Linked DNA regions of Homo sapiens: region 2 is linked to region 1. Evidence: promoter capture Hi-C in 16 types of primary human blood cells and fetal thymus (Javierre and others, 2016). All regions are on one chromosome and are shown on one strand. The core of a region is centred on a gene start or on the middle of the fragment in contact, and the rest is flanking DNA. Distances in the headings are between cores, read along the strand shown.

The links. The method cuts DNA at HindIII sites, captures the fragments that hold promoters and counts their contacts. A CHiCAGO score of 5 or more calls a contact.
Region 2: the fragment with the promoter of CAMTA1-AS3 here is called in contact with the fragment with the promoter of CAMTA1-AS2 in region 1 in 7 of 17 cell types (M1 macrophages, total B cells, neutrophils and 4 more); the score reaches 11.9 in M1 macrophages.

The regions. Positions count from the first base shown.
Region 1 is chr1:7,388,135-7,391,615 of GRCh38, forward strand. CAMTA1-AS2 (CAMTA1 antisense RNA 2) reads right to left here and starts at 1,620. Exons shown (of 3, transcript NR_146199.1): 1 at 1,525-1,620; 2 at 1,206-1,305. The region is part of intron 5 of CAMTA1 (calmodulin binding transcription activator 1); the gene reads left to right. RefSeq lists an enhancer at 1-532. The HindIII fragment of the contact is 18,859 bases long and covers 1-3,481 here.
Region 2 is chr1:7,012,962-7,016,944 of GRCh38, forward strand. CAMTA1-AS3 (CAMTA1 antisense RNA 3) reads right to left here and starts at 1,318. Exons shown (of 2, transcript NR_182292.1): 1 at 1,290-1,318. The region is part of intron 3 of CAMTA1 (calmodulin binding transcription activator 1); the gene reads left to right. The HindIII fragment of the contact is 7,421 bases long and covers 1-3,983 here.

The sequences.
Region 1 (3,481 bases), core at 370-2,869:
AAATGGGGATAGTAGTCCCTTTCTCCGGGGGTCGTTGTGAGAATTAAGTGAAATGACACAGGGCTTTAATGGATGGTGCTGCACCTGTTGTCATGGCCACTGTGGATGTGAGCGGCAGAGCTGCAAACACGCCTTGCTCCTCTGAGGTCAGCCCATGCCGGCTGCCCTTTGGGTGCCAGCCAGGCCGTTGTGCTGCAGGGAAGGGAGGAGAGGAGCCTCTCTTCTGGGTGAGCCAGACAAAAAGGAACCTCTCGTGGCGTTTGTCCCAGCATCCTCTGACCGTGAGCCTTCCGATGTGCCTGCCTGGTATGAACAGAAACGTGGATCCAACCCACACTCCTTCCTGATTTCAAACGTCCCTGTGAATCGGATGGGACGTAGTTAATAGCCCCTGTCTTCCTGGAAGGAAATGTTCAGGGAGGACTGGTGTTGGGAAGCTAGAGGGGAGGCGGCCCGGCCTTGGAGCCCAGCCCTGTTGGTGTTGCTCTCTTTGGCCCTGGTGAACGTCCTGGCCTTGGTCTCCTGAGTCCAGGGGGCCTGGCCAGCAGCCTGCCTTCCTGAGGCCCAAGCCCCTGGTTCTGACTGCTGATGCGCCTCCTGGGAGCGTTCCTGCCCATCTCCACTTGGAGTTACCAGGAACTGAGTTGTTGGTTCTGCTGGCAGCTCCCATCCTGTCCCATGGGGGGTTCAGACACGGAGACCAGTGCTGGAAGGCCCTGAGGCCTCTGAGCCCTCCAGCCAGAGCCAGGGTGTGCCCAGTGCATGCACTGCTGTGTCTGCCTGGGCTGGTCTCCCCACCAGACCGAGCTTCCTGCCGGACTGGGGCAGGGCCCTAACGCTCTGTTGTTACACTCTCCATCCCCGTGCCATTCAGAGCCTCCCAGCACTGAGTAGGCACTGCACGGCGAGAGGGAGGGGGAGGAGGAAGGGAGTCTGGCTCTGTGCCTGTCCCCGGCTGCCTGGCTCTGACTGTCAGAGTCACTCTGCAGCAGCACAGAGCGAGTCCGCTGGGTGCTGTGAGACGACCCTGGAGAGATCCTCCCACCCCCAGCTGTCTCTTCTCTAGCCTGTTGCCCCCAGCTCCATCCCTCCTAACCCTACCCCTTGGCCAGCTCTCTGGGCTCTGGGCTCGGCAGGAGCCTCTTTCCCCCATGGGCTCAGTCAGTGCTCCCCCTGCAGCCCTGCTGGGTCTCCCTGGAGCTCACCATCCGGACTCGGGCTGTGTGGGCACTGGAGTTCTTGATGTCACACACGTCAGCGTGTTCCCTTAGCACTGTGTGAACACGACCCTGTCCCCTGGCCGGCCTGGGAGATGGCAAAAAAGAATGGAGTGGCTCCCTGGCAGGAAGTGCAGGAAGGCAGGGGCACAGCCCCATTGCAGCACCCCTGCCAGCACAGGCCAGCTTCTCCACTGATTTGCCCTTGACTGTTCCCTTAGAAACAGACATGAGTGGCCACAGGCCGAACGAGGCTCCGTGGAGAGAAGTGGGGGCAGGTGGTGGGTGGGTAATTTATCTTACTTACTGTAGGGTGTGGGGGTAGAAAGCCAGGGCTGAAAATCTTGCTTCTCTAGGAGGTGACTAAAGGCCTTCACAGTGGTCTGGACAGGAAAGGGTGGAGTCCAAGCACAGGGTCCCCAGAGGAGTGTGGTGAGGCCGAGGGAGGAGGGACCCAGGCAAGGGAATCTTGGAGGAGAAGGCAGGACAGTTAGCCCAGACTAGGGTGGCCGGGGCAGGCTCTGTGAGGCTGCTGTTGGGGGTCCCGTGGCTGCAGAGAGGTTTGCTTTCCAAGTCAGGGCCACTAGTTTCCCTCGGATGCTATTTGTGTCCCCCGCCTTCCATTGTGATGCTGCACAATAACTTTTACAGCCTGGCCTGGTGCCTGGCCTGCAGCCCTGAATCACTGATTCATCTTTACCTGCCGCTTCCCTGCCGGACGGCTCTGGGTGCAGGAGCCAAGAGCCCGGGCGACGGCGCAGGGCTGGTTCCTTCCCACTTCTGCCCAGTCACTTCCCCACCCTCTGAGGACCCTGGAGAAATTCAGCCAGGGCCTGGGCCTCTAGGAGCTGCCAAGCCTCCCTCTCTTAAGCAAAGCGAGCTTAGGGTTCACAGGGCCAGAGCAAGAGGGTGACACAACCCGCCCAGGGTGCCTGCCTTCTCTAAGCATCTGACACAGCTCAGGGACCTGCTGTCCTCAGGCTCATTCCAGGTGGGTGCCTTGGCCCTGGGCCTCAGACCAGCCTCCCCTCAGAGCTCTATCTGGACCCTTGTGATGGATGCCATTACTTGTCTGACATGTCCCCAAAGGAGCCCGCAGATCCCACTGCCAACGCCAGTACCAGTGCACGGCCCAGGATTGGCCCTGCTGCTTACTACTCCTGAGCCCCTGCAAGTGAGTTCTGCTCTCTGGGCCTCAGTTTCCTCCTGTCTACAACAGGGTCGCTAGTAGTGCCTGTGGCAGTAGGGTTGCTGTTCAGACACCCAGGCTGTGAAAAGTTCCTGGAAGGGACCCCACCCTACAGAAAGCACTCAGTACCAAAGAAAGCCTCATGGGTGTAAATGAATCTGCTCCACTCTGCAAAGAAAAAGAGCACCTCTCCCCCACATGCATTCCTACGGGGCTTGCAGCCCTGGTGCCCTCACTGGCTGCCATTGAGAGCCTGTGCTCTGCACCGCCCGCCAGGTGTGCCAGGGTGACGTGACTCCACACCAAGCACTGGGGGCTGGACTTGTTTAGCCATTTCTCTCAAGATGGCCATTTCTACACTTTCATGAGAAGGAGGCCTCGCCTCCGTTGGAGTGGCTGAGTGGTGCATCCAGCTGGTTCCTGGGACTGGGGACAGGTTTTAGTGCTCCGAGAATCTGGGTTGTTGTTTTTTTTTTTATGGAGTTTTGCTCTTGTTGCCCGGGCTGGAGTGCAGTGACGCGATCTCGGCTCACCGCAACCCCCACCTCCCAGGTTCAAGTGATTCTCCTGCCTCAGCCTCCCGAGTAGCCGGGATTACAGGCATGTGCCACCATGCTGGGCTAATTTTGTATTTTTAGTAGAGATGGGGTTTCTCCATGTTGGTCAGGCTGGTCTCCAACTCCTGACCTCAGGTGATCTGCCCACCTCGGCCTCCCAAAGTGCTGGGATTACAGGCATGAGCTACCACACCCGGCTGTATCTGGATGTTTTATGCATCCCTTTACACAGTGTGTGTGTGTGTGTGTGTGTGTGTGTGTACATCTTCAGCTGATCCTTCAAAGTCTGTGGGTTTTATTGTCATCCCCTTTTTATAGATTAGGAAGCTGCTGCTCAGACGGATTAAATCATTTGGCCCAGGTCATATGGCTAAGGGGCGCTTGGTGTCCCGCACTTCTGGAGATACAATTAACATATGGTAAAAATTCCGACTTTCTGTGGCCATTCTGAGAGCTTTGGCAAATGTATGTGGTTTCCATCAGCTTGGTCCAGTGATCACCACCACAATCAATATGGA
Region 2 (3,983 bases), core at 68-2,567, 380 kb before region 1:
TCTGGCTGCTGCTTCCCAGTAATGCCAACTTCATCCTGCTAGTGTCTTGGGCCAAAAGCCTTGGGATCATCCCTGAGTCCCCTCTCTCGTCTCCACACGTCCAGACCTTCAACAAACCCTGTGGCCGTGACTTCAAAACACACTCGTCCCTCATTGCCTTGTGCCGCACCTCCTCCGTGCCAGCACTTCTCGCTGGGGAAGTTGCAGACCCTTCTACCATTCTCCAGGCCCTGCCTTTGCCCTTCTTCTTTTTTTTTTTTTTTTTTTTTTTGAGATAGAGTCTCGCCAGCCTGTTGCTCAGGCTGGAGTGCAGTGGCACGGTGTTATCTCACTGCAACCTCTGCCTCCCAGGTTCGAGATTCTCATGCCTTAGCCTCCTGAGTAGGGATTACAGAAGTGTACCACCATGCCCGGCTAATTTTTGTATTTTTAGTACAGATGGGGTTTCGCCATGTTGACCAGGCTGGTCTTGAACTCCTGGTCTCAAGTGATCCACCCACTTCAGTCTCTCAAAGTGCTGGGATTACAGGCGTGAGCCACCACACCTGGCCCCTTTGTCCTTCTTGAGTCTTTTCTCAACCCGGAAGCCAGAGCCATTCTGCTAAGATCAGGCCTGGCCGTCCTCAGTGCTTAGGTAAGCAGAGTGTGGCTCAGCTGTGCACTGTTCCTGGCTGCAGGTGGCAGAGGTGGAGTCAGGGATGGAGCCAGGAGTTGAACTTTGGAGTGCTGGACTCACCGCCCCCCTGGTGTGGACAAGCCCCTCTGTGATCTGCTGGTTCTACATTGTGTTCTTGGTGAGGAGGGCAAGGATACTTTTGCAATTCTCAACTTCTGGGAGCTGGCGGAACTTCCCTTCCTGTCTTGCCTCCACTCCTCAAGGCCTCAAACTATCCCATAATGCTCGGCTTCCTTGTGACTCCTCTTCTTCAACCCCAACGACAAGCAGCCAGCTGAGAGCCTCCTCCAAAGTCAGAGACAAGGAGCTTGGCAGTGGACCTGCTGCCAGAGGCAAGGCCGTGATCTTGGAACATGGAAGCCCAGCACATTTGCTTGTCCTAAAAATACAGTTCTTAAAATAGACCAGTCCATGTGGGAGATAGGGAACCTGTCGAGTGCGGTTCTGAAGGGCTTGCTCTGCCAAGGGGACCGGCTGGCTGGGGCAGCGCCTGGGCAGGGCTGTGTGCCTCAGAGGGTGCCCTCAGCCGTGGCAGAAGCCACAGCCTGGGTTTGGGGTACCCTGTCTGGCTCTTGTTCTTCAAACCCCATCCAGAGGCAGGCCGGTCTCTTACCTGCTCGATGTCTGCACATAGGGAAACCTGAGTTGAAGCCGAGCCTTGGGTTAGGCCCTGCAAAAGCTGCAAACAACAGTTTGTGTTTGGGGTGTGAGGCTATAAACAGCCCAGGAGTCCTGAGGGGGTTGGAGAGTTGGTCAACCGTGAACAAGCTGGAGACTGGCTCCTTCTTCCTGGGGATCCCAGCGCCCACTACAAAGGTGAACTCCTTTTTGCTCCCTGCCCCAGCCTGCCCCATTAGACAGGGCATGGTGAGGCGAATGGCTGCAGGGACTGAGGCCTTTCTGTAACTAAAGCCCAGCCCAAGTATAGGGAGCAATGGCCGAGCTTCTGTTTTAAGGCAGCAAAACAGCGTGCGAGCTTGGTCCCTTAACACGGAGTCTGGAATTGTTTCTCATAACCCAACGCTTGGCTTGGTTTCAAAAAGGAAGCCTCTCCTCTCGGGTATCATGACCAGGCTCCTCGTAAGAGGTGGGACTCAGCCGAGGGGGCCAGTCTAGAGGTTACACATTCTGAGCTACCTTTCGGGGTCTGTGGACCCTCTCAGACCCTGCAGCATGTCGGGGGCCGGGTGGGGGAGCGGGTGGTGGCATCAGTGGGTTTCTGATGAATGCCTGGAGTTGTTTGTATAATTGGGGCTCTGTGTGTCTTTTTTTGGAGGAAGAGCTTCTTTCACATTCCCTGACTCAAAAACCACAAGCTAAATGATCTGTACATTGTCCTCCAACTCTGAGAGCCTCTGATCCTATTATTCCAAGTCAAGAAATTTTGAAAATTACAGGATAGAATTCTTTCTCAGAACAGATGCTAGGGATTTGTAAGTTTCCATTCCCTGTGCTGCCCTGGTTTGCTGGATGGACGGATGTCTTGGAATTTTCAAGACCTCCAGTCCTCAAAGAGGTTCTTCTCACCTGCTGTCCTGGTGAGCTGCATGGGCCTCCCTCCATGGTGACTGTGTTGTTGGACCGAGTGGGATCAGTTGAGTGGGAGGCGCTAATGACCGGATTTCCTACGTTGTCCCCTGCTCCCCTGACTCTATTCCTCACTGAGCCAGACAGACTCACCGCTTCCAGTGTCTGTGGCATGTTCCCACTGTCCACCCTCACGGTTCACATTTTCTGGAATGTTCTGCTCTTCCCCCTGTCCAGGTCCTGTGTGTCTTCAGGGTCTGGTCAGATGTCTTCCGGTGAGGCTGCAGCTAAACTTAGCCTGCCCAGCCTGCCTCTCCTCTGAATGCACATAGTGTTGACATTTTTTTCAGTTTAAAAAATTTTATTTTAAAAATGATCTTACAGTTAAATTGACGTTTTTGGGGCTGTGCCGTTCCATGACTTTTAACCCATGTTAGCACTGCCACAAGTAAGGGACAGGGCAGCTCCACCACATCCTGCAGTGTATTCGTCTGTTTTCGCATTGCTATAAAGAACTACCTGAGACTGGGCAATTTATATAGAAAAAAGGTTTAATTGGCTCACATTTCTGCAGGCTGTACAGGAAGCGTGGCTGGGGAGGCCTCAGGAAACTTAGGATCGTGGCGGAAGGCAAAGGGGAAGCAGGCATGTCCTGCATGGCTGAGGAGGCCTCAGGAAACTTACAATCATGGCAGAAGGCGAAGGGGAAGCAGGCATGTCCTGCATGGCTGGAGCAGGAGGAAGAGGGTGAAGGGACAGGTGCTGCACACCTTCAAACAGCCGGATCTCCTGAGAACTCACTATCATGAGAACAGCAAGAGGGAATCCTCCCCTATGATTCAGTCACCTCCCCCAGGCTCTTCCTCCAACATTGGGGATTACAGTTTGACATGAGATTTGGGTGGGACACAGAGCCAAACCATGTCATGCAGCCACACCCTGCCCCATCCTAACCCCCCGAAATCACTCATCTCTGCTCTGCCACCATGGGTTGGTCTTTTTGAGAATGTCAGATGCAGGCTGGCTTCTTTCCCTCAGCCTGACACCCGTGAGAGCCGTCTGAGTTGGTGTATGTGTCAACAGTTGGTTCCTTTCAGTGGCTGGGTACGCGTCCTGTCTTATCCACATGTTCTCTTGGTGAATTTTGCCTCATTGTGTGCATGTCCTATGTCACTAGATGCAGGGAGGCAAGGGCAGCATGTGGTTCATTTTTATAACCTTTCAAATGCTCTGCAAACAGTAGGTGCTCAGCTGTCGAATGGGTGAATGAATGGACCACAATGGGTAACAGGAAGGGGAAATTAATTTTACAGAATTTTGTATTTCCTATATCCTAAAAAATCTCCAGTAAACATAACCCTTAATTTCCTGAATTAAAAATGATTCATGCTGGGCGTGGTGGCTCATGCCTGTAATCCCAGCACTTGGGGAAGCCAAGGCAGGTAGATCACTTGAGGTCAGGGATTCAAGACCAGCCTGGCTAACATGGGGAAACCCCATCTCTACCAACAATACAAAAAATTAGCCTTGCGTGGTGGCAGACACCTGTAATCCCAGCTACATGGGAGGCTGAGACAGGAGAATCACTTGAACCCAGGAGGTTGGAGGTTGCAGTGAGCTGAGATTGCACCACTGCACTCCAGCCTGAGTGACAGAGCGAGCCTGTCTCAAAAGAAGAAAAAAAAAAGGAAAAGAAAAAAAAGATTCATTGCCTCTCTGTATTCTGTTAGTAGCCGAGACAGGAGAAAAAGCAATCAAGGTAACCTAATAACAGGGATTT